Regions from separate parts of the Homo sapiens genome. Here all the other regions are linked to region 2. The links are contacts of gene promoters, found by promoter capture Hi-C in blood cells and fetal thymus (Javierre and others, 2016). All regions are on one chromosome and are shown on one strand. Each heading gives the region's core, a stretch centred on a gene start or on the middle of the fragment in contact. The rest is flanking DNA. Distances are from core to core; before and after follow the strand shown.

Region 1 (6,744 bases), core at 1,389-3,888, 8.4 Mb after region 2:
CTTCAGTACTGTTGTACGGTAAGTTTTAATATTACATAATGCAATTCAGAAGAAATTATTTGTTTACGCACACTGAAATAAATTCTGTGTCCTTTTTTACCTTGTTTATTCCTTTCTCCATTTTTTGCTCTTATTTTTTGCATAGAAATCTGTGTCACATGGGCTGGGCGCGGTGGCTCACGCCTGTAATCCCAGCACTTTGGGAGGCCGAGGCGGGTGGATCACGAGGTCAGGAGCTTGAGACCATCCTAGCTAACACAGTGAAACCCCGTCTCTACTAAAAATACAAAAAAATTAGCCGGGCGTGTTGGCAGGCGCCTGTAGTCCCAGCTACTCTGGAGGCTGAGGCAGGAGAATGGCATGAACCTGGGAGGCGGAGCTTGCAGGAGCCGAGATCGCGCCACTGCACTCCAGCCTGGGCGACCGAGCGAGACTCCGTCTCCAAAAAAGGAAAGAAAAAAGAAATCTGTGTCACATTTGTAGATGTTTACTTTTTAAATATTTAACAAATACTTGAATTTCTGTGTATTTCCAAATCCACGAATTTCAGTATTGAAAAACACTCAACTATGTTATCTTCTTATTCAAATGGTAAGAAAATGTGGAAATGTGTAAGGAAAAGCTTTTCCCTGCCCCAATTTCTTGAGATAACCAGCATTAACACTTTGGCATGTAGGAATGCTTTACCTTTTTTTGTGCTCATAAGTATTTATTTATATATACATATTTGGGGAGTTAGTAATCTTTGTATTTTTAAAAGTGGATTATATTATGCATTTTACTCTGCAACTTGCATTTTTCATTCTTTAGTGTATCATGGACACCCTCATGACCATCCCTCAAAGCCTTATTAACTCATTATTTTAAATGGTTGTATAATGTCTGTAGTATTAACGTTCCAGTATTTTTAAGCCATTGCCCTATTAATTGATACTCAGGATTTTCTTGGTGTTTTACCTTGTGTGGCAAATATCATCACAACTATATCTTTAAATGGCACTGCCTTTACTTCTGTGGGATAGATCCTAAAAGTGGGATTGCCAGATAAGAGGAAAGGTGTATTTTTAATTTTAATAGATACTATACTCTATTTGGACCCATTTTCTCTCTGTGTCATTATGTCCATCTTGAGGCCTTAGCAGGATATTTTTATATCCACATTGATATGGAAACTGGTTAGAACATTTGTTTTCAAACTTTTTGTTCTCATACTCCCAATAGAATTTTGAAATATATGTACTATGTACCTCATTGCACATTTTTAAGTGAACTTCCTAAATTCTTCCTCATGACTTAACATAGTTACAAATGGTATAATTTTCAGAATGTTGTATTAACATTTAAAAATAAGACTGTTAGAGTGCTCTTTAAATGCATCCACAGAATTCTAAGTACCACCAGGATTTGCTACCTGAAATTTGTATTTTTAAAAAAAGTGGAAAGTGTGTGTATGAGAGCTCTTTTTTCAATAGCATGAGATTTTATATCATTCCTTTTTCTCATTAATATTTTCATCTTCCCCCCAAATTTTTCATGATGTAAAGTATTTTTATACTTGAAAAACCTTTTATTGATTACCTGTAATACTTCTCTGCAATAGGAACACACATGTCTATAAGTTTATATTATATAAATGTATTTATATTCTAAAAAAATTATGGTCATGAGGTTTTCTTCTACATTTGCAACTATTGCAATAATTCACATTTCTTATTACAATTCACAATTCATCAAAACATTTCAAATTTTGATATTAAAATTTAATAAAATATTTTATTAAAATGAATTTTTTGATGTGGTGTAAGAGCTGGGTAGTTTTTTCCTCCTACCTTGCTCATGTATGAAAACATCAATTCTTGCCATTATTAAATCAGAAAATATCTAAGTTTATTTCTAAATGCAAATAAACATGTGAGTAAATGTTTTGTAGAGAAATAAGACCATTGATAAATAAATTACAGAATATGTCATAGAAGGTAGATGGTGGAATACACTTCAAAATGAGACACAAGGCTAAAAAACATCAAGGTACAGATCCGAGAGGAGAGTTTGTGATTCAGTAGTTTTATAAGACATTAGCTTTCTTTTAATGAACCTAGAAAATTTTCTTAGGGAAATTTAACATACCATCTGAATAATTAAAAATAGGTCATATTTCCAATGAGGTGTAAAGATGTTTCAGGCATTCAACAGTGATGTGAAGAAGATTTCAAGGAGGAAATATGGTAAACAACAAAGGGAATTTTCATAGTTATTTCCGAAGTGAGTGGCACAGACTATTTGGGATGAAATGCTTTGAGACACTATGGAAAAGTTTGATCCATACAGTAAGAGAACAAATATTGTAAGGTTTTAACAGGAGTGATACAGAATGGAAAAGTTTGATCCATATAGTAAGAGAATACAATTATTGTAGAGTTTTAACAGGAGTGATACAGAATAGCAGAGGGGCCTGCTGATGAATTGAAGGGGATCCAATAAAGAGATTACTGGAATAATAAAGATGATCAGGACTTAGACTAAAATATTTGTGATAAGGATAGAGAAGAAGTGTTAATGTATTGGGGGAAATCACAGGATATATCAGCTGAATGCTTATGTGAAATGAGAATGATGAAAAGTACTTAAATGGAGAGATGGCATTGGCCACTGTATTAGTCTGTGTTCACATTGCTATAAAGAAATACCTGAGACTGGGTAGTTTATAAGAAAAGAGGTTTAATTGGCTCATGGTTCTGCAGGTTGTACATAAGCAGGCAGCATCTACTTCTGGGGAGGCCTCAGAGAGCTTTTACTTAACGGCAGAAGGCAAAGCCAGAGCAGGCATTTTCACATGGCTGGAGCAGGAAGAAGAGCGAGTGAGGGAGGAGGTTCCACACACTTTTAAACAATCAGATCTCACAAGAACTCAGGACAGTATCAAGGGGGAAATCTACCTCCATGATCCAATCACCTCCCCCAGGCCCCACCCCTAACATTGGAGATTACAAGATGACATGAGATTTGGGTGGGGACATATCAGCCACTATAGTGGGAAAGGGATGAACAGAATTAGTTAAGATAAGCAGTGCTCCTTTTTGATGGAAGCATAAGCAACAAAAAAAATTATAAAAATATTTATCATTATAAAAGGATCTATCATTTAAAAAATACAGTAAGTAGCTAGTGGTATATTCCACTTAGAAATAATCTTAAGAATTATTAAAAATCTGTCAGTTATACAACTGTGATGAGAAGAATAAAAAGTCCAAGGTTGGAATCTTGAATGCAACCAAGGAAGTTGGCATAGCATAGAAGTCATTATAGGGATATTCAGGGAGATAACTTAGGTAGATACTAAACCTTGGAACCCTAATTCAAAAAGAGTATTAAGTAGTTATTAGTAAGAGTACACAATACCAAGCAAAAGAGCATTTAAAGAGAATGGGGTCAGACTGGGATTTTTCAGTGAATCTTCATTTGCTATAAGACAAAACAGTGCGAAGGTAGTAAGATGATAAAACACACTTTATCTTTACTGTTTCATCTTTTAGTTATTGTTCAACCCTTTCCTTCCAATCCCCCCACACATACATTGCAAGATAGTTTTTCCAGCTTGACCTCTTTTAGTCTTCATTGTACTTGATCACGAATCTACAGTGGATTCTGTTCACTACTCCCTGCTAAAGACCCTCTCTGCTTGACCACCTTGACTTTTCAGGTTTCTGGTTTTCCTACTATTAACATTTAATAATAGCTAACTTTTATATGACATACCATAAATCACTGTTCTGAGTGTCCTACAACATTTAAATCATTAATGTTCACCTCAACCCTATAATGTAGGTAGTATTATTACTGCCATATTGCAGGTGTGGAACCTTAATGGCAAAGAGGTTAAACAACTTGCCCCAGGTCATACAGCTAGAAAGTGTCAAAGCCATGCCTCAAACCCAGTTATCCATGCTTTTAACCACTATTGTATATTCCCTTCCTGGCCATTCGTAATCTCCTTTGTGGATTTTTGTTACTCAGCATACCCATCAAATGTTGGAGTTCTTCAGGGATGATCTTGTTGCTTTTTTCTCTCAGGCTTTTTCTAGTGAATCTCTCTACTCTTTGACCTCTTTGACTTCAATTACTTTTTTTTTTTTTGAGATGGAGTCTCGCTCTGTTGCCCAGGCTGGAGTGCAGTGGCACAATCTCTGCTCACTGTAACCACCACCTCCCGGCTTCCAGTAATTCTCCTGCCTCAGCCTCCGGAGTAGCTGGGACTACAGGCATGCACCACCATGCCTGGCTAATTTTTGTATTTTTAGTAGAGATGGGGTTTCACCTGTTGGCCACACTGGTCTTGAACTCCTGACCTCAGGTGATCTACCTGCCTCGGCCTCCCAAAGTGCTGGGATTACAGGCATGAGCCACCACGTCTGGCTGACTTCAATTACATTTTTGCTGATAGTCCATAAATCTGTGTCTCTAGCCGAGATCGTTCTTGAGTTTCAGACATATATCTACAACTCTGTCCTGAACATCTTCCACTTCTGTATCTCAAGCAGCTCCAAGTCAGCATATCTAAAATCTGCATTTAGCCTCTTTTTACCCTCCACAGTGTTCCATTTCTCAATGAATGCCATCGTCCATCAAGTTGACCAAACCAGAAATCTAAGCTTCATACTAGACCCACTTTATCTCTCTGACATGAATCAGGTGATACATGATTAGGTTTTAAAGTATTGATGGAAATGAATGGGACTAATAGATGGTGGGAGAGCCTGGCATACCAATTGGTAATCTGCCAGACACTCCCCTCTTCCCCCAACACAGTGGAATAGGATATACAGACAGGTTATCTCACAGTGGATGGGATAATACAAACAGGTTGAGGAATGTATAATATATAGAGAAAAAGCTTATAAAAGTGATTAATCTTGAAAGTAGTTGAATAATGCATTTACACTGAGAAGTTTGGGAGGGAAATGGCTTCAGAAATAAGGGGGATAAATTACCAATTTTTTAAATTCTAAGGTATATATGCTTTTCCACACATTTTAGCATCTTTTTTTGGAATGGTGGCATCTTCAATTTTTGGTGAAGTTTTTTTTTTCCCTAGATATACATAAAATAATACTGCATCTTAGAGTTATGGCATCTTAGTTTTGATAAAATATGGTAGTTTTAGTTGGGTAGCATTTGTCTATATTCCAGTTTCCAAACTGGAATAAAGAACATAACTACCCATAATCCTTCCTTCACAAATTGTTTACAAGCAGAAGGACTGTGGTATTTATGCATGATGCACAAAGGGAAGCAGCAAAGGATTCTAGAATCTACTTAAATAGCATTAATTAGTGTTACTAACATATATGGGTGATAGTAAAAAGTAGTTGGTGATTTCCTAAGATTGGTACATCTAAAGTGGTGTAGAATTCTCATCTACAAATAAAATTAAAATTTCTCTGGGTGCAACTTAATACTACTAATAATTCAACTTTTTTTTTCCTCCAAAAGTAACTAGAATGAATGACTATTGCTGCCTTTATTTTGATTGGAATTCAGTTGTATGTTGCTTTTTTTTCCCCCCCACAGGTAGCAGATATCAAGAGAGTTAACAATCTCATCAGTGATCAAGACTTTTTTGCCCTTAGGTCTATCAAAATTCCAGTAAAAAAGTTCAGTTCCTTGACCGAAACACTTTGTCCTCCAAAAGGAAGACAGACTTCACGTCATTCATCTGTTCAATACTCTTCCGAACAACAGGAAATTTTGCCAGCTAATGATTCTCTTGCTTACAGTGACTCAGCTGGTAGCTTTTTAAAAGAAGTAGACCGAGACATAGAACAAATAGTAAAGTGTACAGACAATAAGAGAGAGAACCTCAATGAGGTAGTATCGGCCTTAACAGCACAACAAATGCGTTTTGAACCTGATAACAAAAACACTCAACGTAAAGACCCCTATTATGGAGCAGACTGGGGAATAGGGTGGTGGACAGCTGTAGTGATAATGTTGATAGTAGGTATAATAACACCAGTGTTTTATTTGTTGTATTATGAAATTTTAGCTAAGGTGGATGTTAGTCATCATTCAACAGTGGACTCTTCACATTTACATTCAAAAATCACACCCCCATCACAGCAGAGAGAAATGGAAAATGGAATTGTGCCAACTAAAGGAATACATTTCAGCCAACAAGATGATCATAAACTGTATAGTCAAGATTCTCAGTCACCTGCTGCTCAACAGGAAACATAGCAATTAGCTCATAATCAAATGTTAGTGGTCACATGTGCATCTGGAATGTGGTGAATCAGTTATATCCAATAATAGCTTCAAAGGCAGAATTTAGAGAGATTGAGGATGCTTTTGTTTTTAACAAAAGGGTTTCACACTTTGAAAATTTTTTGAGCAACTAGTTGTTGATGTTGAGAGCAGTTGATCCATAAATCTGGTGTGTGAATGTTTCAAGCAGAAATTAATTTAAATGTGTGTTTAGGAAGTACTTAACTTGGAAGATGTATCATTTTTCTTAAAATGCATGTTTAAATTTTATTTTTTTAAGTAATTTTTAAAAAGTTTATTAATGTTAAATTTATGATGCAGAATGATAGCATCAGATGTCTGCAGCTGAAAAAAATTTACTACTATGAACCCCCAAAATATTCAGTTGCAAGAAAATTTGATTCTAAAATTATTCATGGTAGGATACGTAACACACCCCTTCAAAACTTTTAAAAAATACATTTAGCACATGTGCTATGAAAG
Region 2 (6,402 bases), core at 1,737-4,236:
AAATACAGTGACCATAAAGAAGGTGGATGAGCCGCTGGTAGATATCAGAATAATCTGGGAAACTTCCCAAATACTACCTAGAACCTAGAAATTCTGCATATCAGCAGAGGGGAAGAATAGGAGTGTCAGGCACGTGTAGTTACAAAAGAACTTTCCAGGTGACTGAGTCCTATCCCTTGCCCAACACTGGGAACTAAACTCCTCTAATTTCTTATTAGGAAAACAGAAAATGTACAGCAAATCTTCACTAGAAGATGACTTAGGATTTCATGGTTTCTATTCAGAGGACTTTGTAAATTTAAGAATCATATTGGAAAGACTTCCTCTGGTTTTGCAAGGACATGGGAAATACTGTCACAGGTTGAGATTCTAGGGTATTTTAATAATGTCCCGATTGTTTTTGTGGTTTCTCATATGCAAATCCTCCAGGCAACAAGGACATAATTATGGAATTAAAATCTTAACCCTGGCATCCAAAAAGCTAACAAAGGAGCAAGTTATCCTGTTTATGTTATATATTTCACAATTCTGGATATGTGGTTCCCAGCCTATCCCCACCTAAGGATACCCATTTAGTACTTTACCTAGTAAAGCATATCACAATTAAGGACCCACAAAATGCTGTCTTAGATTCCGGAAAAGTAATATTCTTTCCAAAGAATATGAAATTTTAAAAATGAGAAATTAAATAGTAACAAAAACCTCCTGGTTAATGTTAATTATGTGGAATTTTTCGTTAGTCATGTGTTGAGATTATCAACTGTTTGGCTATTGTTTTAGTACCACTAAGTAGAGATAAAGCTAGTTTATTCAAATAAAGTGACACTGCAAATTTAACTATGTTGATAACAAATCATCAAAAAGGTATCTTTGGATTACCTACACGCTTTTTAAAAAATGAACTGGCAAGATTGTTGCAATTTTCCACCTACTGTGTACTTCTGCAAAGCAATAAAGTATGATTTTACTCGAAATCTAAATCTCCAATGTTCAATATTTTATTACAAATTGGGCAAGATCTTTTTTCGAATAGCATGTTTGATGGCACAATACGACAGAATAGCATATTCAATGGCACAATTAGTAGTAAAAAAACAAAAAACCTGCCTGACGTGCTTCCGGAAAACGTAAAATAGACTGTATATACAGTAATTCTTTTCATAAGACAATGACAAAATGTCAGAGTTGTAATTGAGGACTTTATTAACTGAACTATACTTCTGATTACAACATTCTGTGTATGTTAATAGTTTCTCTGGAGAAATTACGGGCACAGGAAGTTCCTCTCATTAAGGATATTAACATAAAGCTTAATATGAAAAATTAGCACTCAGTTCAGAAATGACGACTTCAGAAATGACTTCAGAAATGACGATTTGTATGATCTTTTCATTCCTCACAACCCAGTATTAAAACTATCTAATATTGCAAAGGATGGTAGTGTTCCACTTCGTTTTGCTATTCAATTATTGCTGATAGATACATGTTTTCAAAAAGGCCATTGGCATCTGTTTGCTTTCTCCTACTTCTCCAAGTGAATACACCCTTCAATATGTAGTAAATACATATGTGGAGTTATGTTTTGAGATTTTTTTGAAGGATTTGAACCAAACTGTTTAAACAGCTGGTAGCCTAAAACTGGAATATTTCCCACAAGGGAAAAATAATTATTTGGGGAATGTATGTTACCACAAACTCATCTGACTTGGAAAGTGCGCCTTTACACCAAATCAAATAACTGAACAATGGGATTAGAAACTTTTAATTATTATTAACCTCGGCCACCGGGCGCCGTGGCTCACGCCTGTAATTCCAGCACTTTGGAAGGCAGTGGCAGGTGGATCGCTCGAGCTCAGGAGTTCAACACCAACCTAGCAACATGACAAAACCCCGCCTCTACAAACATAAATAAAAAACAAAAATCATTAACCTTGAGTGAGTCAAGTTCATCTGCAGACTGAAAAAAATAAAGTGTAACAGAATTTTGATTTAAAAAACGCTTTCAAAAAAGCATTTCAAAATGCTCTAAGTATGTTTCAAAAATACACTTAAAAATATGTTTCCAACACACTGAAGGGATTTAACTAAGATCCACAATTACAGTTACGATACAAACTGTAAGCTAAAAGGCAGCAACTTAAGCTGAGACAGTTACTAACATCCCTCGAGCAGCGTTTTTTGTTGCGATTCGGCGCCGCACCCGTCACCCCGCCCTCCGGGGAGGAACCTAGAAAGGAAGGGTGGTACATTTCTAAACCAGGCCACCCACACATGAATCAAGCGGCATCACAGGCTGTCAACAACCGGGTCTCTATTTTCTCTCCTCCTCCGGCGCCCCGCCCGTGCGGGACATCAGCTCCCAGGATGCGTCAATCGCAGATCGCCCAAGCGTAAGAGGTGGCGAGAGGCCACCACGGTTGCCCAACAGTTGCGTTCCCAGGCTGCCTGGTGTGACGCAGCAGCCCCCGCCCGGACCCTGAGGCCTGGCGCTCCGACTGAGCCGAGGCCTGTGCTACCCGACACTCCTTGCGACCCGGCCCCTTAGGCTTATTCAGCGCGGCCCTTCCCGGCTTCCCGAGTCCCATCGCAGTCTCTCCCCACCCCCGTTCCTCCCCGGTTCCTTGTCAGTGTCCGCCGCGATGTCCTTGCGCAACCATCCCAAGTGACATTAGCGCCCATACCCGCACGGAGCGAGCCTGAAGCTCCCACTTCCCGGAATTCAACGCCGGGCCGCTAAGGGCGGGCACCCAAGCGAGGATCAGCGGACTAAGGCCGCGACCAGAGTCCAGCGGTCTCCGCGCAGTCAGAGTCCGACAGCCTCTGCGCATCCGCCGTGCGCACTCCCATTCGTGCGCGTGCGCGCACTCGCCCCCCCCGCCCCGCCCCAGCACCAATCGCTTTTTTCCTACGCCCACGACCCTTCAACGTAGTCCCTCCCGCCTCCCGCGCGCGAGCAGAAAGGCTTCGGCGTGCGCGCGCCCGCCCGCCTCGCGCTCTGTCGGGAAGGGGAGTGAGCAGAGGCGCTTACGTCGCGCGGGAGGCGGAGGCGACGGCGACCTCGGTGGCGGCGGCGGCTACGACGGAGACGGTTGCGCTCGCTTGCTTTCTCGGCGTCATGGCGGCTGCCGGGGGCAGATAAGCGGAGGGAGCGGGAGCGCGCGCGCGACGGCGGCGGCGGCGGCGGCGACGACTGGTTACTTATAGCTCTTGCTGCCCTCGCCCTTGGTGCTTCAATAATGAATTGTTAGCTCCACTCCGCAGGGGATCGCGCGTTGGTGCTGCGGACCGGGGCTTCCCCTTCCCCTCCGCGTCTGTCCCCTTCCCCCTCCCCCGCACGGACTCTTGCTTACCCCGAGACGCCGGAGCCCTAGGACTGGGCGGCGGAGATCCCGGGCCTGGGCGCGGGGGAGGCCGTCCACCCGAGTCGGCTCCCTCCGCCCCGCCAAGCCCGCCGGTAAGAAAGGGGGCGGCGGGCGGGTCAGGATGTGGCGGAGAGGACAGGAACCGGCCGGGCGGAGGGCGGGCGCGGCGCGGTGCCCAGGCGGCGGCCCAGCGGCCGGGTGAAGGCCGGGTGGCTCTGTGAGTGCCGGTGGCGGTGTACGGGCCTGGCGCGCAGGGGGCGTGTGAGCGGCGAGTACAGGCCGGGGCCGCAGAACGCATCCTTGCGCCGGCCCGGCGGCCCTGCCCCGGCCTCTTCGGCTTGGTGCCGACCGGGCCGCGAGAGGAGACCCGCGAATGGCTAGCACTTAGCCGGTGCGTGGGTCCTGCCGCGACCCGGGCTCCCAGCACGTGGGGAGCGGCGGGAGGGGGAGGGGGCGGCGGCTCGGGCGAGCCTGGGAGGGCGCGGGGCGGGTCTGCGGGAAGTTTGAGGCGGGAAGAGGGACTCCTGGACCGGGATGGAGGCCCTGGGAGAGGGGGGCAGGTCCGCGAGGGAGGCTGATTGGAGCGCGCTGGATGGATGAGTGAGGATGGTTTCCAAACCTCTTTCGAGTGCCGCTTTAAAAACTTAGCAGGAGCAAAGCAACTGCTAAAAGACAGAGGATTGAAGAGGTTTAATAACTTAGGGTAGTCATTGTGGAGACGCTTGAGAGGACACAGCGCTGTGTGCGCTTGGAGCTTCAGAACTCAGGGTTGTGAAAAGGGTCTCAGAGGACTTATTCGGATAAGGGAGATGGAGGGGAAAGGAAGTTAAAATGTACAGAGAAAGCCATTTTGAGGGACGAAAGGAAGGTGAAAAGGAAAGAACGAAAAGGGGAGTGAACTTTTTAAAGGAAGAAACGGGAAAGGCAGTTTGTTAACATACTTAGATTTTTTAAGACTTAATTGTTCAGTAAGGCACTTTGACTAGGGTTGAGATTAATATTTAACATTAGGAATAAATGTTGAGTAGAACGGTTACTTTTTAGATAACCTGTTCTTGCAGAGTCTACTGGACAGTAGTCTAGAGAATTAACATCCTGATCCAGATGCAGACTTTGCTATCATTGAGTTGGTAACAATCTGTTTCCCTCCCTCTCTTGTGGAATGGAAATAATCGTAGGAGTGAATTCTCTTTGCTGAGGTCGGAGGACAGCTCTGCTCTCAGTTGGCTGTCTCGGTACTTTCTGGCTGGGGAAGGATCTGACGTCTCCTTCCCCCGCTTCTTCCTCTCCCTCCCCTGCCAGAGATCTCCTTTGTTTATTCGTGGATGGCTTGTAGGTGATTCTTCAGTGTTGTACTGAAATCTTTAAAGGTGGAAATGGTGTGTCTTGGTTCATTATTCTTGCCCCAAATTTTTTACGTAAAAAATCAGATATAGTGTATATTCTATTACCTTTTCAATTTTTTTCACAAAATAAAAACCAAGTGCAAACTGGTTAAGTATTATTTAAATGTTATCATCCCACTATCCGTTTACCTGTTAAATAACACATTTATTTTGAGCTATGCATTTTTGTTGAGAGTATATGGTATCTTTTATTTGCCTGTTCCTCCCATGGGAGCGTTTTCAGAACTTTCTCACTCAAGTGTATGAAGTTCTTGGTGATAGGAGTGAGGGCTTGATTAAAGGTAACCTCCTCCCACCCCCCCCCCCACTTCATTTATTCGACCAAGTTATCTAATAAGACTCCGTTATCTACTCTTGGGATGTATGCATATGTTACATCGTATCACCTTGCTTTAGGAGTCTATAAAAACATTGTTAGTTGCAGTTAGTCTCTAAAAATCCTTTCACTCCACAAATATTTTAATTTTTTCTGTCCGAAGTATATTAGCAGTAGCATACTAAATTCTAGTTAGCAGTCAGGAGTGTAGTTATTACAAGTCTAGATATTTTAAGTATTTAATAAAAGGCCCCCACTTCTTCCTTAACAGCTGTAGTCTAATTGGCCTACGTAGATTTATACGTTTTAGACAGGGCTTAATTTACCTTTTTTCTGCAGGAAATTTTGTTAATTTATTAATATATTTTCTTTAGGTGAATCAAAGGAGAGTCCCAGAAAACCTGTGACTGTTGAAGAAAATTCATCTGTGAATTTTTATATTCAAGGAGTCAGTATTTATATTCATCTTTTAAACTGGGAAGATTTATATTTTACTTTAAAACTTCTTGATAATAATTTACAATGAATGGACACAGTGATGAAGAAAGTGTTAGAAACAGTAGTGGAGAATCAAGGTAAGTAAGCACTTTGTTATCAATTGTTTACTATGAAGAGAGTTGAAAACTTGACTTTTTTCTTTATTGTTATTGTTGTTATTTAGTTTTCCTCATAGGTAGCAGAGTTTTCAGGTTTTCCTCTTAGCTATCCAAATACTAAAAAAATTCTGATATACGAACCTTTTTTCATAATACAGGTTTTAATTATATTTTTCATTCAGATACACAGTAGATCTTAAATATAGAAAGTTTTTGTTTACTTAAATCTATTTGGAAGTTTATATTTGAGCTAATAATTAAGCTGGAGCATGTATAATAGATTTAAATTGTTTTGACTGTTAGTGAAATTTCTAGATGAAGGCAATAAAAATTTTTTCACTCATCTTTTTCTGGCATTTTGTCTTCTATACCTGTACTGTCCAGTGTGGTAACCACTAGCCACATGTGGCTATTTGAACTCAATTACAAAATATTCAGAATTTACTTAGTCATACTAGATATATTTCAAGTGCTGAATAATCACATGTGGCTAGTGGCTACCATATTGGACAGCACATAGAAAACATTCTATCACTGGAGAAAGTTTTAGACAGTGCTGAGCCAGACATTTGTTGAAATATTACTGTGGCCCTTTTTTATTTTCAGATTGGAGTTTTAATTATCTGTGAAGGAGTTAAGAGTTCTTGCTTGGGTCAAGTGTTTGCAAAGAAGATTCTTTAAATTCTGTAGCTCTCAAATTTTGAGTTATCTGCACATTAGTT
Region 3 (6,907 bases), core at 1,036-3,535, 7.6 Mb after region 2:
TTGAAGCCATGGGAAAGAGTCTGGCCTTTTTTTTTCTATTACTTGTTTCCTCAGGGTCCATGGAAATGCTGAGGAATTGCTTAAGTTTTCATCTGCTGGGATGAATGCCAACTTTATGCTCTGGTCTGGCTGTAGAAAATCCCAGAGTAGATCTAAGAATATCTTGGTTGGGGGCAAATAATGAGGTCATCATTGTCATCATCCTTCCAGTGCAGATCCTGGCCTTCCATATTTTTTCTTTTCCACAGAGGGCTCTCAGGTAGGCTCTCATCACCTAATGGGTCAAGGCCTGCCTGGCTCCACAAGGTACCCCGCAAGGACATTTCTGGGGCTTATTCAAGGAAAGAACATAGGCAAAGATTGCCTCAAGTGCCCTAGAATTTCTCTCTTGACTTTGTTCCTTAAAGTAGAAAACAAACTTCTGTAGGCAGGAGGCTGTGGCAATTATTTTACGTAGTTCATGGGCTATAACTTCAGAGATTCTTCCCTGAGGAAAACTGGGTACTGTGGAGATTCAAATTGTAATCTGAACTCAAGATAGGGAGATATGTTTATTCTTCCTTGGAGATAGCGATGATGTGAATTGTGTCATTATTTCTTTTGGATTTGATTAAAAGGGAATATATTTTATATTCTTCTACTTTTCTCAATAACATCCCTATAAAGGCTGGTTCATATATTATAGTGATTGCCACCCCTCACACCCTGGTGTGTTCCTACATTTACGTTATTGAAATCCCTAACAACCTTCTCACCCACTTTTGCTTAGAACTGGTGAAGCACAGAGGTACGTCAGAAAATTTTTCTTTTTTTTCTTTTTCTTTCTTCTTCTTTTTTTAAATACAGGGTCTCACTCTGTTGCCCAGGCTGGAGTGCTCTGTTGCCCAGGTACATTTATGGCTCACTGTAGCCTCCCTACTGAGCTCAAGCCATCCTTGCTCCTCAGCTTCCTGAGTAGCTGGAACTACTGTAGGCATGCACCACCATACCTGGCTAATTTTTGTATTTTTTGTAGAGATGGGGTTTTGCCATATTGCCCAGGCTGGCCTCCAACTCCTGGTCTTAAGCAATTCTTCCACGTCAGCCTCCCATAGTGCTGGTATTGCAGGCATGAGCCACTGTGCCCAGACAGAAAAGTTTTCTAAACTAGAAAATAAACTCATTTATTTATTCAACAAACACAATCAACTACATTCACTGTTGAATTATACTCAATACGAATTAACTCACTGAAATCAACTAAAACAATCCCCTTCTGAATTTTTGTTGATAAAATAGATACCTGAAGCATATGATAAGGGAAAGAGAGCTAGTCTTGGAATCCAGTCCTACCTCTACCAATTCCTAGATGTGAAATTCTTGGTGAAATATTTAACTTTTCTCAGTTATAGTCTCTCTATAAAAATGAAGAGTGCAGAAATGAAGCAGAATAGTATAAGATCTCAAGCTTTGCAGTTGGACGGGCCTGGATTCCAATCCAGTTCTTTTCTGCTGCTTATTAGTTGAGTGTCCTTGGGAAAGTTACTTAAACTTCTTATTTCTCAGTTACTTTATCTGTGAAAATAGGAATGATACCACCTCACCTCACAAAGCTGTATTTCCAAGGATCAAATTTTAAAATGTTGACAAAGTGTTTAGTATCTATCTGGCTCATAACAGTATTCATTAAGCTGTGTTTTTAAAAAAAAAATCTGGGAAGAACTTTTGGGATCACAAAGTATAAACTCTTTTACTTTTCTTTGTGTGTGTGTTCGTGTGTCCCTACCCGTCCCTGCACCGACTCCTGTTACTTTTCAAAAGGAAAAACGGAGCCCGAGCAGCTAAGGATCTTGCCCACGGTCACTGAATTAGCAATGCTTGTGATGAACATTCCCAAAGCTTTTATGAGCTCTACGATCTGGAATAGGTCTCTTTGTGATCTGTTCTCCTACTTGCTAAATATATGAAATATTAAACTTCATAATCACAAAGTTTCTGTATCCATCTAAAAATGCCAAAGATTGCATTGCTATTTATTGAGCGCCAATGTTCAGAGAATGTTGCTACCTATTGTGGATGCTATAACATGCATGTAAGAATTTGTCTCTTGTCTCAAGAGTGCTTACAGTTTAGTTGGAGAGACATTTATATAGACACTTATGAGACATGTAAACCACTGACATAGCCACTTGACATGGCTGAAGTTCAAATGTCAAAAGGATAAGACATGAACAGCAATGTATGCCACAAGGTCCTGCAGAGGGTGAGATCCATTTGGCTTGAGGTGTTAGTGATCAGTCTTCAAAGAGAAAATAGGAGTTTTATCTGTGCATTAAGGCTGAGTTGGATTTGAATACAGAGACAGGAGAAGGGAAGTCATCATGTGCCTTGAACTAGTGCAAAAGTACAGAGGTAAAGATAGTCACCGTTAAGCGTCCCACGATTTAGTACTGAAAATTGCAGAGATTACTGAATGAATTTATTAAAGGAAATAATTCTGAGTCTGTCAATACAGTCATGCATTGCTTAATGATGGAGATACATTCTGAGAAACAAATCCATAGGTGATTTCATCATTGTGTGAACACCACAGAGTACACAGACCTAGATGGTATAGCCTACTATACACCTAGGCTATATAGTATAGCTGTGAAAGGAAAATAAAATCTTGGAATACTAAACTCACTATGCCAAAGGGAGAAGTTAAGCTTGGGAAAGAAGTCATGCAAAAACTGCCTTCCTTTTGCTCCTAAACAGCTGCAGCACAGAGGGCCACATAGCTCCCCACGTGGCCTCCCTCACAAACTGCTCACAATGAAATTCTTTGTGGGCCCAAGTCTTTATCCTAAAACAGAGTTCTGTGGAATCACATCCTGATAACGTAAATTAACAGTTTACCTTCACAGGTACTGGACAAATACAAGATTAGAAATCATCCCTCTGCCCACCCTGAGAAATATTCATGTTTGACTTCTGATATGGTCTGTGTCCCCACCCAAATTTCATCATGAATTCCTACCTGTTCTGGGAAGGGCCCTGTAGGAGGTAATTGAATCCTGAGGGCGGGTCTTTCCCATGCTGTTCTCGTGATAGTGAATAAGTCTCATGAGATCTGACAGTTTTAGAAGAGGGAATTTCCCTGCAAAAGCTCCTTTTTATGCCTGCTGCCATCCATGTAAGACATGACTTGCTCCTCCTTTCCTTCCGCTATGATTGTGAGGCTTCTCCAGCCATTGTGGAACTGTAAGTCCATTAAACTCTTTTTCCTGTATAAATTACCCAGTCTCAGGTATGTCTTTATCAGCAGCGTGAAAACAGACTAATACAATTTCTTTCTCTACTCTATGTTTATACTACATAAAATGCAGATTTACTTTGTGAGAGGAATGTATAATTGACTGTTGCTCTTTCCCCACCTGCCTGCTCTTTCTCCTTTAAAAACTGAAGTCCTAAAGACTCTTTGGAAAAAACACAGTCCACAGATTCTAGTGTAACTTGTGTCTCTTTTTCCTGGTGTGTCCTCAGTCTGAGTAAAATAAGCCTCTAAATTGATGAGATTTGTCTCACTTTTTGGTTTACATAGCCTATTGCTCCTAGGCTACAAAGCTATACAGCATGTTACTGTACTGAATACTATAGGCAATTGTAACACAGTTGTGTTTGTATCTCTAAACATATCTAAACATAGAAAAGGTAACACATTGTGCTACAACCTTACAATGACTATGATGTCACTAAAAAATTTTCAGCTGCATCATAATCTTATGGAACCATCATCATGTATGGAGTCTGTTGTTTCATTTACAAAGGAGTTGTGTTCTTTTGGTGGGGGGTAATTTTGAAACAAATATCTTTCTCTGTTTTTTGGGGTTTTGGGTATTGTTTTGTTTTGTTTTGTCTTGTTTTGAGTCAGGGTCTTACTCTGTCATCCAGGCTGGTGTGCTGTGGTGCTATCATAGCTCACTACAGCCTCAACCTCCTGGCCCCAGGAGATTCTCCTGCCCTGGCCTTCCAAAGTGTTAGGATTACAGGCATGAGCCACCGTGGTAGCTGAAATCCCTTTCTTTGAAGCACATTAGAGAATGAAAAAGAAAAGAGAGAAAAAAATAAGAGAAAGAATAAAAAGAAATTGCTGTGTCCTGAGTCATGTCCCTCCTGGTAAATAAAATTTATGGGAAGCCATTATTTTGGACTGAGGTCCCATAGTAGGGCCCAATAGACCAAACCACATAATCAAGCTAAAACCTTAAGGAAGCAGATAAATCCCCAAACACACCAGTTTTTCTTGAAAACAAGAGGTTCACTCACAGCCATCACTTGGAAAAGACCCAGTCAACTTGAGTCACCCTAATAAGGAAGTCCTTCTGCTTTAAACCTTATAAGAAAAGTAACCTGAAGTAACCTGATGTTAACCATTCTGCTTTTTTCTATATTTGTTTCCTTGTTCTCATATAAAAACTAACTGTTGCAATGAGTGCTGATCATGCCACTGTACTCCAGCCTGGACAACAGAGTGAGACCCTTTCTCAAAAAAAGCAAAAAACAAAAAAGTAACTGTTTTGCTAAACCCAGTAGAGCACTCATTATTTTATAGAATAAAATGCTGCCTGATTCTAGAATCCCAAATAAAAGCCAGTTTGATCTTTAAATTTGTTTTAATTTTGTCTTTTAACACCGTCAAAAGTCATATATTGAAGCCTAAAACCCGCCCCTTCTCTCTCTCCTCACCACCCTGTGTGTACACAAAGAAGAGATCATTTGAGCATCCACCTGCAAGCGAAGAGAAGAGGCTTTAGAATGAAACCTTCCTTGCTGGCACCCTGATCTTTCCAATCTCCAGAACTGTGAGAAGTATATCTCTATTGCTTAAGCCACACAGTCTGTGGTACTTTGTTATGGCAGCCCAAGCTGAGTAAGACAAATACTATTTCAAGAAAGTGACTTATTACTGGGTGCGGTGGCTCACACCTGTAATCCTAGCACGTTGGGGGTTGGAGACAGGCAGATACTTGAGATCAGGAGTTCAAGACCAGCCTGGCCAACATGGTGAAACCCCACCTCTACTAAAAATACAAAAAATTAGCTGGGGGTGGTGGTGTGTGCCTGTCCTAGCTACTTGGGAGGCTGAGGCAGGAGAATTACTTGAACCCAGGAGGCAGAGGTTGCAGTGAGCTGAGATCATGTCACTGCACTCCAGCCTGGACAACAGAGCAAGACCCCATCAAAAAAAAGAAAAAGAAAAAAAGAAAATGACTTAGTGACTTATCTCTTATGAGCTGCTTGGGGAAGTTGATGGGAGATTGGTCACTAACTTCTATCAACAGCTAAGCTCATCAGCCTTATATCTGGACAGAACCAAATTTCTGTCTCAGCTAAATAATGCATTCCTGTATGGCAAAGGGGCAATAGTACAATAGTATATCCTCTCTGCCCAGTGACTGCTATGGTACTTTGTCAAGGAGCTCTCTCCGAGGATGGGAGAAAAGCGTTCTTGCCTGGTTGTTTTGCATCACCTACCACTTTTCTGGCCAACTGATGATTGTAGGGCATTCCTTTTATTTAGATTTCCTTTATTTCTTTCATCTCTCCACTCATAATCAAAGAACATTAAGTACTTGCTCAGGTGTTTTAGACTCTTGTCTAAGGATCTTGCCCAAGGTCACTGTATTAGTCTGTTTTCACACTCTATATATAAAGAAATACTTGAGACTGAGTAATTTATAAGAAAAAAAAGAGGTTTAATTGACTCACAGTTTCACATGGCTGGGTGGGGGGCCTCAGGAAACTTACAATCATGGCAGAAAGTGAAGGGGAAGCGAGGACCTTTTTCAGAAAGTGGAACGAAAGAGAAGAATGAAGGAGGGGCTACCAAACACTTATAAAACCATCAGATCTCATGAGAACTCACTATCACGAGAACAGCATGGGGGAAACTGACTCCATGGTCCAATCCCCTCCCTCCCTCGATACATGGGGATTACAGGTCCCTCCCTTGACACGTGGGGATTACAAATCGAGATGAGATTTGGGTGGGGACACAGAGCCAAACCATATCAGTCACTGAACCACTACGTTTGTGATGTACATTCCCAAAGCTTTTATTAGTTCTAGGATCTGGACAAAGTACCTGTACTACCTCTTTGTGATCTGATCAATAGTTTAGTCAAGTTCAATAATACTGATAACACAATACAAGCTTCGTTTACTGAGAAATTTTTTGCATGGAAATGTGCTAAACCTTTTATAGGCATCATCTCATTTAATCCTGCCTGCTTTGCAAACAGGTGAAATGGTGATTATAATCTCCATTATAGGCTTAGAGAAGCTAAGTATCAAGTCCAAGTTCACACCGTCATAAGATGAATTTGGGTTTTTGAACTGAAGTCTGACTTGGTAAATGCCAAGGCAATATCCATATGGATATGCTAAGAATAATGAATCAGAATCAGGCACAGTTTTTAAAACATCAAATGATGTATGTAATTACTTAAAATCTTAAATTTTTATGCAATAATTTGACTTTTTTTTTAAGGCTAGCGCATTAAGTATACCTCCCATTACAACTAGTTCAAGTATATGAGATTCCATTTCTGGTCCATATTACTCATTTTGCTTTCTTGGGCTCTGATCCTCTCTCGTATTTTCATGTTTCCTATTTGTATTTGTTTGGGGCTTTTCTCTCCTTTACAAAATTGGGTAGTCATGCTTCTCCAGTAACCTTGGTGAGTCAGTTCAACCTCTAATTACTTCAGTCTCCTTGCCTGCAAGAAAAGCAGTCAAACTACACGAACACTCTATTGTTTTGCATCATTTCACACGTACACAGGGATAAGGAGGGAAATAATTCTCCCAATGAAGCAGAACCACCGGTAACAGCTGGCACAACTTCTAAAGACCCAGTCTGTCTTGAAAAACAGCCGCAAATTGT
Region 4 (7,153 bases), core at 4,119-6,618, 8.5 Mb after region 2:
ACAGGGCTGAGCTTCTTTCAGGAGGCTTTGCGGGGTGAATCTACTTCCAGCTTATTCAGGTTGTTGACAGAATTCAGTTCCGTACTTTTGTAGAATTGAGGTCCTCAATTTCTTGCTGGCTGTTGGCTGGGGTCATCTCAACTTTTAGAAGCAGCCTTCATTCTTTTGACTCATGATCTCATTTCATTTCAGCCTATAATTGTGGATTGAGTTCTTATACTTGGTTTATTTATTTACCTACTTATTTATTTGAGCCAGAGTCTCACTCTGTTGCCCATGCTGGAGAGTGCAATGGCGCAATCTTGGCTCACTGCAACCTCCATCTCCCGGGTTCAAGCAATTCTCCCGCCTCAGCCTCCTGAGCAGGTGGGACTACAGGCATGTGCCACCATGCCTGGCTAATTTTTGGATTTTTAGTAGAGACAGGGTTTCGTGTTGGCCAGGCTGGTTTCAAACTCCTGACCTCAGGTGATCCACCTGCCTCGGCCTCTCAAGGTGATGGGATTACAGGCATGAGTTATCATGCCCGGCCAGAGTTCTTATACTTTAAATCTCTCTAACCTCTCCTGCTTCATTTTTTCTGCCTCTAAGTGGAAGAAGTTCTCTGATTTTTAGGACTCACATGATTAGACTGAGCCCACTGGATAATCCAGGATAAACTCCCTATTTTAAGGTTAATAACCTTAATTACACTTACAAAGTTCCTTTTTCCATGCAGTGTAACATTAACAAATTTCAAGGATTAGGACATGGACATCTTCGATGGGTCATTCTATCTGCCACACTCTTGTATTTTACATCTATCTTATTTTTGGATTTCATTCTTACTTTTCTGGAGTACATATTTCAGAAAGAGTATATGATAATTGAACTTTCTGAAATCTTTATTATGTACTCATAATTGAGTTTTGTTCTGACAGGAAATAGAATTCTAAGTTCAAAATAATTTTCACTTACAATTTTGAAGGTATTATCTTTCGGTATCTAAAGTTTCTGATGAGAAATCTGATACTAGCTCAATTCTTAAATTCTTTTATAAAAGGTCAGATTCTTGTGACTGGAAGCTTTTAGGCCTTTTTCTTTATTTTTGATGCTCTGAAATGGCTTCTTTATGTGTCTAGGTGTGGTTCTTTTACTATTATTTTGCTCAGTACTAAATGTGTTCTATCAATTTGGAGACCTGTATTTATCTTCAGTTCCTCGAAGTATCTTTTCAATGTGTGATATTTTTCTCCTCCTCCTCTTGTTCTCTCTTTCAGAAATTCTTATTAGTCAAATAATGAATTAGTCCTCCATTTTTTTCTCAAAATTCTCCATGTTTTTGTTTGAATACTGCAAGTTTTGTGATATTTTTTCAATTAAATCATCTTGCCAGTTTAATTTTTACATTCATGTTTATTTTCAACAGTCTTTTCTTATTCTCCAATGCTCCTTTTTCAGAGTATTCTGTTCTCTAATATTTTCTTGAGTACTTCTTAGGCAGCTTATTATTATTAATTTCTTATTATTTTATTTTGGTTCCTTAGCTGACTCAGAGTCTTCCTGAAATGGTTTTTAGTTTTATCTTTCATGCTGTTGATTTTCATATCTCTGATGGTTTTTCATTCTTCATTCATTTTAAAGACTCAGGCCACGTGCCGTAGCTCACGTTTGTAATCCCAGCACTTCAGGAGGCCAAGGCGCAAGGTGGGAGGTTGCTTGAGCCCAGGAGGTTGAGGTTGCAGTGAGCTATGATCTAAGGCCATGTCATTGCCCTCCAGCCTGGGCAACAGAGAGAACCCCCGTCTCTAAAAAAAGGAAAAAAAAAAGAGTGGAGTTCTAGATAGATGTAAAGAGACAAAACACTGGGGAGAGGAATCTGGAGGAACTGAAGTACAGTGGTTTCCTAAAGAGGTTTTAAATTGACATTTTGTTTTTAGCCCCCTTCTCATTTCCACCTTCTACTGTACAAGGGAACTCTATTCCTGGAGTCTCTCTGGGACTTTGCTAGGTAGATCAACTCTCTGTGAAACATAAGTCATCTCTGGAAAATTATAGGATGCCACTTCAGTGATCTGTTTCATTTGTCAACAAGTTTCCATATTTCTTTTGATCTTTCCAATAATTTTTTAAATACCTAGTCTGCTGATGGTCCCTCTCCAGGTCACTTCAGCTTTAGAAATTAATTTATTGGCTAGGCATGGGAGCTAATTCCTGTAATCTCAACACTCTGGGAGCCTGAGGCTGGAGGGTCACTTGAGACCAGGAGTTCTAGACCAGCCTGGGCAACACAGCAACACAGTGTAAAATTTAAAAAAAATTAGCTGAGCATGGTGGCATGCTTCTGTAGTCCTAACTTTTCAGGAGCTGAGGCGGGAGGATCCTTTGAGCCCAGGAGTTTGAGGTTACAGTGAGTTATGCCACTGCACTCCAGCGTGGGTGATAGAGGAACTCTTGATTTATTAAGGCTTTAGGAGGCAGACTAAACAAATATTTATGTCACTACCTTTTCAAAGCAGACATTTTTATTTACATTTGGCTGTCTCTGGAATTTCTGGTCTGATTACCATTGTACCAAATACATTTTAGTGTCCCATACAGCAATTTTTGTATTATTATTCTTTTTCACAGTTTAGTAAGTTATTTTTATAGAATTGTTGTTGAGATGGTCTTTGGAATACCTTTGTTCAATTCAAGAAAAATATGAGAATTTTGATTGCATCAAATTTAGGTTTAAAATATAATTAGTGTAACCACCTGTCTTATCTTTAGTAATAGATGATTAGACCCCAAGTTTCAGCAGAGCAGTTTTCCATCTAGAGATTTCTTGCCTCAACCTCCCGTGAAGCAAGAAGTGGTTGTCACTAGTTCTCACTAATTAAATATAATAAAAGTGATGCGTGTAAATTCCCTGTCACTCTCTTAAAAGGACACCCTATTGAAAACCTTTTAAAATCTGTTTGCCCAAATTATTTGCTTATAAAACGCACTCTGAGACCAAAAGCATCTCACAAAATCCTAGTGTTTCAGGAATGAGGTTTGAGAAACACTGGTGTTTAAGTATTCTGCCGATCATATTTAAAAAAGTATTTTCTAAACCCACTTTATATCCTAATAGAAAAGGTGTTACCTATTATTCAGTGCCTTTTTGACACTGAGATGATTTCCTTAACCTAACATTATAATTATTTAACACAGATTTATATTTTGAATTATCTTTGCACTTAACAAAAAAAAACTCAATTTAGTTATAGAGAAATGTTCCTTTAAGACAGTATCAAACTGACTTTGCTAACATCTAGGAATTTTGCACTTAAGTTCACAAATGAACATCAAACATGAGTCAGGCACTGGGGATACAATGGTGAGAAACATGCATAGCCTTCATCATCACTGAGCTTACACTGAGTGACTTTAAATGTTCTTTTAGGATGTGAAAGATTATGGCAGCTTCAAAAATTAAGCTAAGAAGCTCTCCATCATTTTCTATGACTTGAGTTTAAAGCACAAGATTTAGCTCTTATGATTTTTAATCATAAATCTGAGTGGGCTGGAGGCTTTTTATTTGTGAGTACAGAACTTTGGCATCTTTGTTCCAGTCCTGTCTGTAGTTATTGACTTAATTCAGTTTTCCACCTTTTTTGAGTTATGTTTTCCTTGAAAAGTGACTATTTCATTTTCTATTAATATTTATTGGCGGTATAAAATTGTATAAAATATTTTAATAATTTTTAAACCTCCCTTTTATTAAATTACCAACCTTACTAGTGGCACTATTCCTTTTCTTGTTACACTTCCTATAAGTCTTTGAATTTCACTGGTATTGCCAAAAACCAGCTTTATACTAGATTATGAGTACTTTATCAATTTTACCAATTTCCTTTTAAAACACTGTTCTCAAACTTTATCTTTACTAATTTCCTCTTCCTAATTTCAATTATACAATTTGTTCTTCGTTTCTAACATCTTCAAATAAATGCTTGGCCTATTTTTATTCTTTCTTATTTAAAATAATGTTCTCCTATAACTTGGTCTGTATCTTAAAATTTTAACATATAGTTTTTTTCAATATCATTATGTTCTAGTAACTACAATTTCTCTTTCCTTTTAGACTCAAAGGTGATTTATAAAGGTACTTTAAAATTTAAAATACGAACAAAATAAAAGTTCCACTTTTGTTTTTTAGGGGTGCTATCCCTTAGCTAATTTTTAGCTTATTCTATCATACTATCTTTCCTTGTGCAAATTTAGCCCATCCTTCTAGGTCTAACGTTTATGTCACCTCCTTTAAGAAGCATATCTTGTGTTCTCTCCCTTCTCTAAAATTTTATATACATCCCTTAAACATATAATGTTTATATATTCTCCGCCTTCAACTCCCATCCTCAGGCTATTTTATTCACGTTTATGAGATTTGCTGTTTAGCTCAGTATTTTGTGGATTTTCAAAAGATTCCACTCAATTTACCGAGCACCTACGCACCAGACATTTTATTAGGTACAAGGAAAAGCGTTAAATAGATATAATCACGGCCTCCAAGAAATTGAACCTAGTAAGAGACACGAATAAGCAGACATTCAAGTGAGCTTTAGGAGACTTGGTTTGGTAGTGAAGACAGTCTCATGTGTGTTAACAGCTTACAGCACTGAAAAATAAGAGACAGAAGGGAACAAATCCGTTTCAAACAGTTCAAAGGAGGAAAGAGAGGGAAAGGTGGTTTAGATACAGCTAAATCATAAATAGCCTGATAATCTAACCCTGTGATAATCCAAGTACAGCCACAGCACCTGCCTCAGAATCACTTGGAAGGCTTGTGAGGAGTAAAAACGCAGATTCATACCTACTGAAATTAGAATGGAGAAACGGACATTTAAGTCTGCATTTTAAACACATTCCCCAGGTACTGAGGCCATTCCAAGTTTTAGAACAGAGCACAGCCAATTTTCGCAGACCTTGTTCCTCAAGTACTCCCTCCTTCTAGCCGGAGGGTGGCCTGCAGCATGTCCCTTCCCTTCCCACCGCCGAAGCTGTCCATCCAGTTTCTGAATGGCGGCCCACAGACCGCACGGCTTTACGAGAGAGGAACACAGCGCCCACCCGCCAAACAGCCACACAGGGATCGGAGGCCGGACCCGCAAAGGATTCGGGGAAAAACGCATCGAGCCAATCCGAAGGGCGAGAGCGGCCCTAGATTGGGGGGGCGGGGGGGCGTTAGGAGGTGGGCGGGGCACAGAAAAAAAATTTTTTTTTCCTTGATTGACGTAAAACCTACCCAATGAAAATAGAACTGGTAAAGCTTCCGCCCCCTAATAGGCAGAACCATAGCGACATTTCAACCAATCCAGCTCAAAAGTGTCTATGTTGTGGGAGGTCCCTGAGGCCGCTGAGGTCGTTCGTGTCTGTTGAACGGCTGTGGGCGTCTTGCTGCCTTGGGTAGGGGGTTAAAATCGTTCTTGAGAGGAACGTCTCTGTGCGAAGAGATAATGAGTTTAGCTCTGAGGTCGGTAATAAGGAGGCGGCAGTGCTCTCCACACCCCGGAGCGGGGCCCAGGGAGGGTGTGTGTGGAAGGGAGGACGTTTGGGGCCGAGGCGAGGCAGGGGATGTAGTTTGGGACGCGGGAAAGGAGCCTAGGGCAGCCTGCCCGGATCACTCACCCTCTGGGCTCTGATGCCCTGCAGGGAACGAGACCAGTGCATTTCTGCTAAGGAGGTTATTTCTGTCAGCGCGTAGGGCTTTGGACTGCCAGAAGGTTGGGCTTAGTTGCGAGCGAGGTGGGAATGAAATATCGCGAGGCTTCTACTCTTGTTTCTCAGATCAGGTCGCGGACATCCCTTCATTCATCCGTGTGCCTGGTCAGGGCCCCACCTCGGCTGCTCCGCTGCTAATGCAATCACCCACCTATAAATTTTGGAAATAACAAAAACTCTTTCCTCTTCTCCCAGGGCCCTGCTTTACGGTGTAATTGGAGACCCATTTTAGTGACTTTAATTGGCAGTCTGTCTCTTGGATTTCCTAAATTTCTTGCATTTTTTTACCTTTCAGTTCTAACCTCTAACCCTCTGTTGCCCTCTCCCACTATGTAGACGTTGTACCGTAAAACTATCCATACACTTACGACACTCCGAAAATATTCCATGTTCTGCTAAGGGATAATCATGGTACCCTTGGATGGGGTCAGGGGTGGGTCGGTTCTGGACTTGGCCTCCAAAAGTCTCAGGAAGGAAAAGACTGACCCCAGGAATACCCAAGTTTGTGTCAAGTCAGGTCTCATGAAAGGAAGATCTTCCTCAGCTTTGTTATACTGCACCTACTAGTCACTTCCTAGCTTTTTTTTTTTTTTTTTGGAGCTTTCAGAGACCAAAACGACTTTCAAATGCAACTAGATAGGTGTTTTAAGTACAGTCAACTGGTTTGACATGTTAATGTGTTACCGGATTGTGTTTCAAAACTCGTTATTCCAGTGTTGCGGCTCCATTTGAAAATTTGGAGCACATTTAGATGGGCAGCTCTTAAGGAAAACATTTCTGGCTTTAAAATAATTTTTGCTTTTTTTCTTTAAGCGTTTCCAGAGTTTATGAGAAGTTAACCTCCGGTTTACATGTTAAATGAGACAAGACTCATCACATTTTTATATAGAATGAAGCACAAACATTGTATATTGGCATCTAATATTTGTCATATGTTTAGACTCATTAATATTTTCGATGGTTTGTTAATATCAATGGAGGAAATGACACATAAATTGCCAAACTGTTAAAAACGTGTAATCTAAAAACATTTTGAACCAACAGTGCTAAAATACTGTATAAGTTAATTCACTTTTTTTTTGTAATTTTATGAACATAATTATCAGAACTATCAACAGTAAACCGATATATAGTGATTGTCAGTTATGAATTTTGGTTTCATTTGGAGATTTTTTTTAAATTCTTTAACATTCTTGTAGGATAACGTGTTTTTGTTTTTTTGGTTGGAGTTGGTTGGAGTTTCAGACATAAAAGTAGTGTTGCTTATTCACAGTTCTTGTTTCTTCCACAGTAACATTAGTGGGAATAAATAAAAAGCTGGGAAAAAGAAAAGTTTGGTCCTCATTTCTTTTAATAATCTGTAACACTCTTTAGTTTTGCGAAGTTCAGATTTATAGCAATTTAGACTATGGAATAAACAGGTCAT

Evidence for each region. The method cuts DNA at HindIII sites, captures the fragments that hold promoters and counts their contacts. A CHiCAGO score of 5 or more calls a contact.
Region 1: a contact is called between a fragment that was not itself captured here and the fragment with the promoter of CHD1 in region 2, in 1 of 17 cell types (non-activated CD4 T cells). The highest score is 8.0, in non-activated CD4 T cells.
Region 3: a contact is called between a fragment that was not itself captured here and the fragment with the promoter of CHD1 in region 2, in 1 of 17 cell types (activated CD4 T cells). The highest score is 6.4, in activated CD4 T cells.
Region 4: a contact is called between the fragment with the promoter of CETN3 here and the fragment with the promoter of CHD1 in region 2, in 5 of 17 cell types (total CD4 T cells, fetal thymus, total CD8 T cells and 2 more). The highest score is 9.8, in total CD4 T cells.

The regions. Positions count from the first base shown.
Region 1 is chr5:90,518,309-90,525,052 of GRCh38, reverse strand. It overlaps LYSMD3 (LysM domain containing 3), which reads left to right. Exons shown (of 3, transcript NM_198273.2): 2 at 1-18; 3 at 5,569-6,744. The coding sequence ends at 6,234. Among named protein-coding and RNA genes, the nearest start is that of LYSMD3, 7.9 kb to the left of the region's middle. RefSeq lists an enhancer at 286-787. The HindIII fragment of the contact is 4,027 bases long and covers 625-4,651 here.
Region 2 is chr5:98,925,591-98,931,992 of GRCh38, reverse strand. CHD1 (chromodomain helicase DNA binding protein 1) reads left to right here and starts at 2,986. Exons shown (of 36, transcript NM_001270.4): 1 at 2,986-3,454; 2 at 5,459-5,659. The coding sequence starts at 5,607. CHD1-DT (CHD1 divergent transcript) reads right to left here and starts at 3,431. Exons shown (of 4, transcript NR_151718.1): 1 at 3,351-3,431. LOC100289230 (a long non-coding RNA gene) reads right to left here and starts at 2,859. Exons shown (of 1, transcript NR_036530.1): 1 at 984-2,859. RefSeq lists enhancers at 2,253-2,582, 2,071-2,969 and silencers at 2,743-2,952, 3,213-3,842. The HindIII fragment of the contact is 7,543 bases long and covers 1,312-6,402 here.
Region 3 is chr5:91,281,500-91,288,406 of GRCh38, reverse strand. No RefSeq gene overlaps it. Among named protein-coding and RNA genes, the nearest start is that of LUCAT1, 29 kb to the left of the region's middle. The HindIII fragment of the contact is 809 bases long and covers 1,881-2,689 here.
Region 4 is chr5:90,407,971-90,415,123 of GRCh38, reverse strand. CETN3 (centrin 3) reads left to right here and starts at 5,368. Exons shown (of 5, transcript NM_004365.4): 1 at 5,368-5,479. The coding sequence starts at 5,463. It overlaps LOC731157 (a long non-coding RNA gene), which reads right to left and starts at 5,124. Exons shown (of 2, transcript NR_105024.1): 1 at 4,820-5,124; 2 at 4,455-4,624. RefSeq lists an enhancer at 5,399-5,598. The HindIII fragment of the contact is 6,726 bases long and covers 5,278-7,153 here.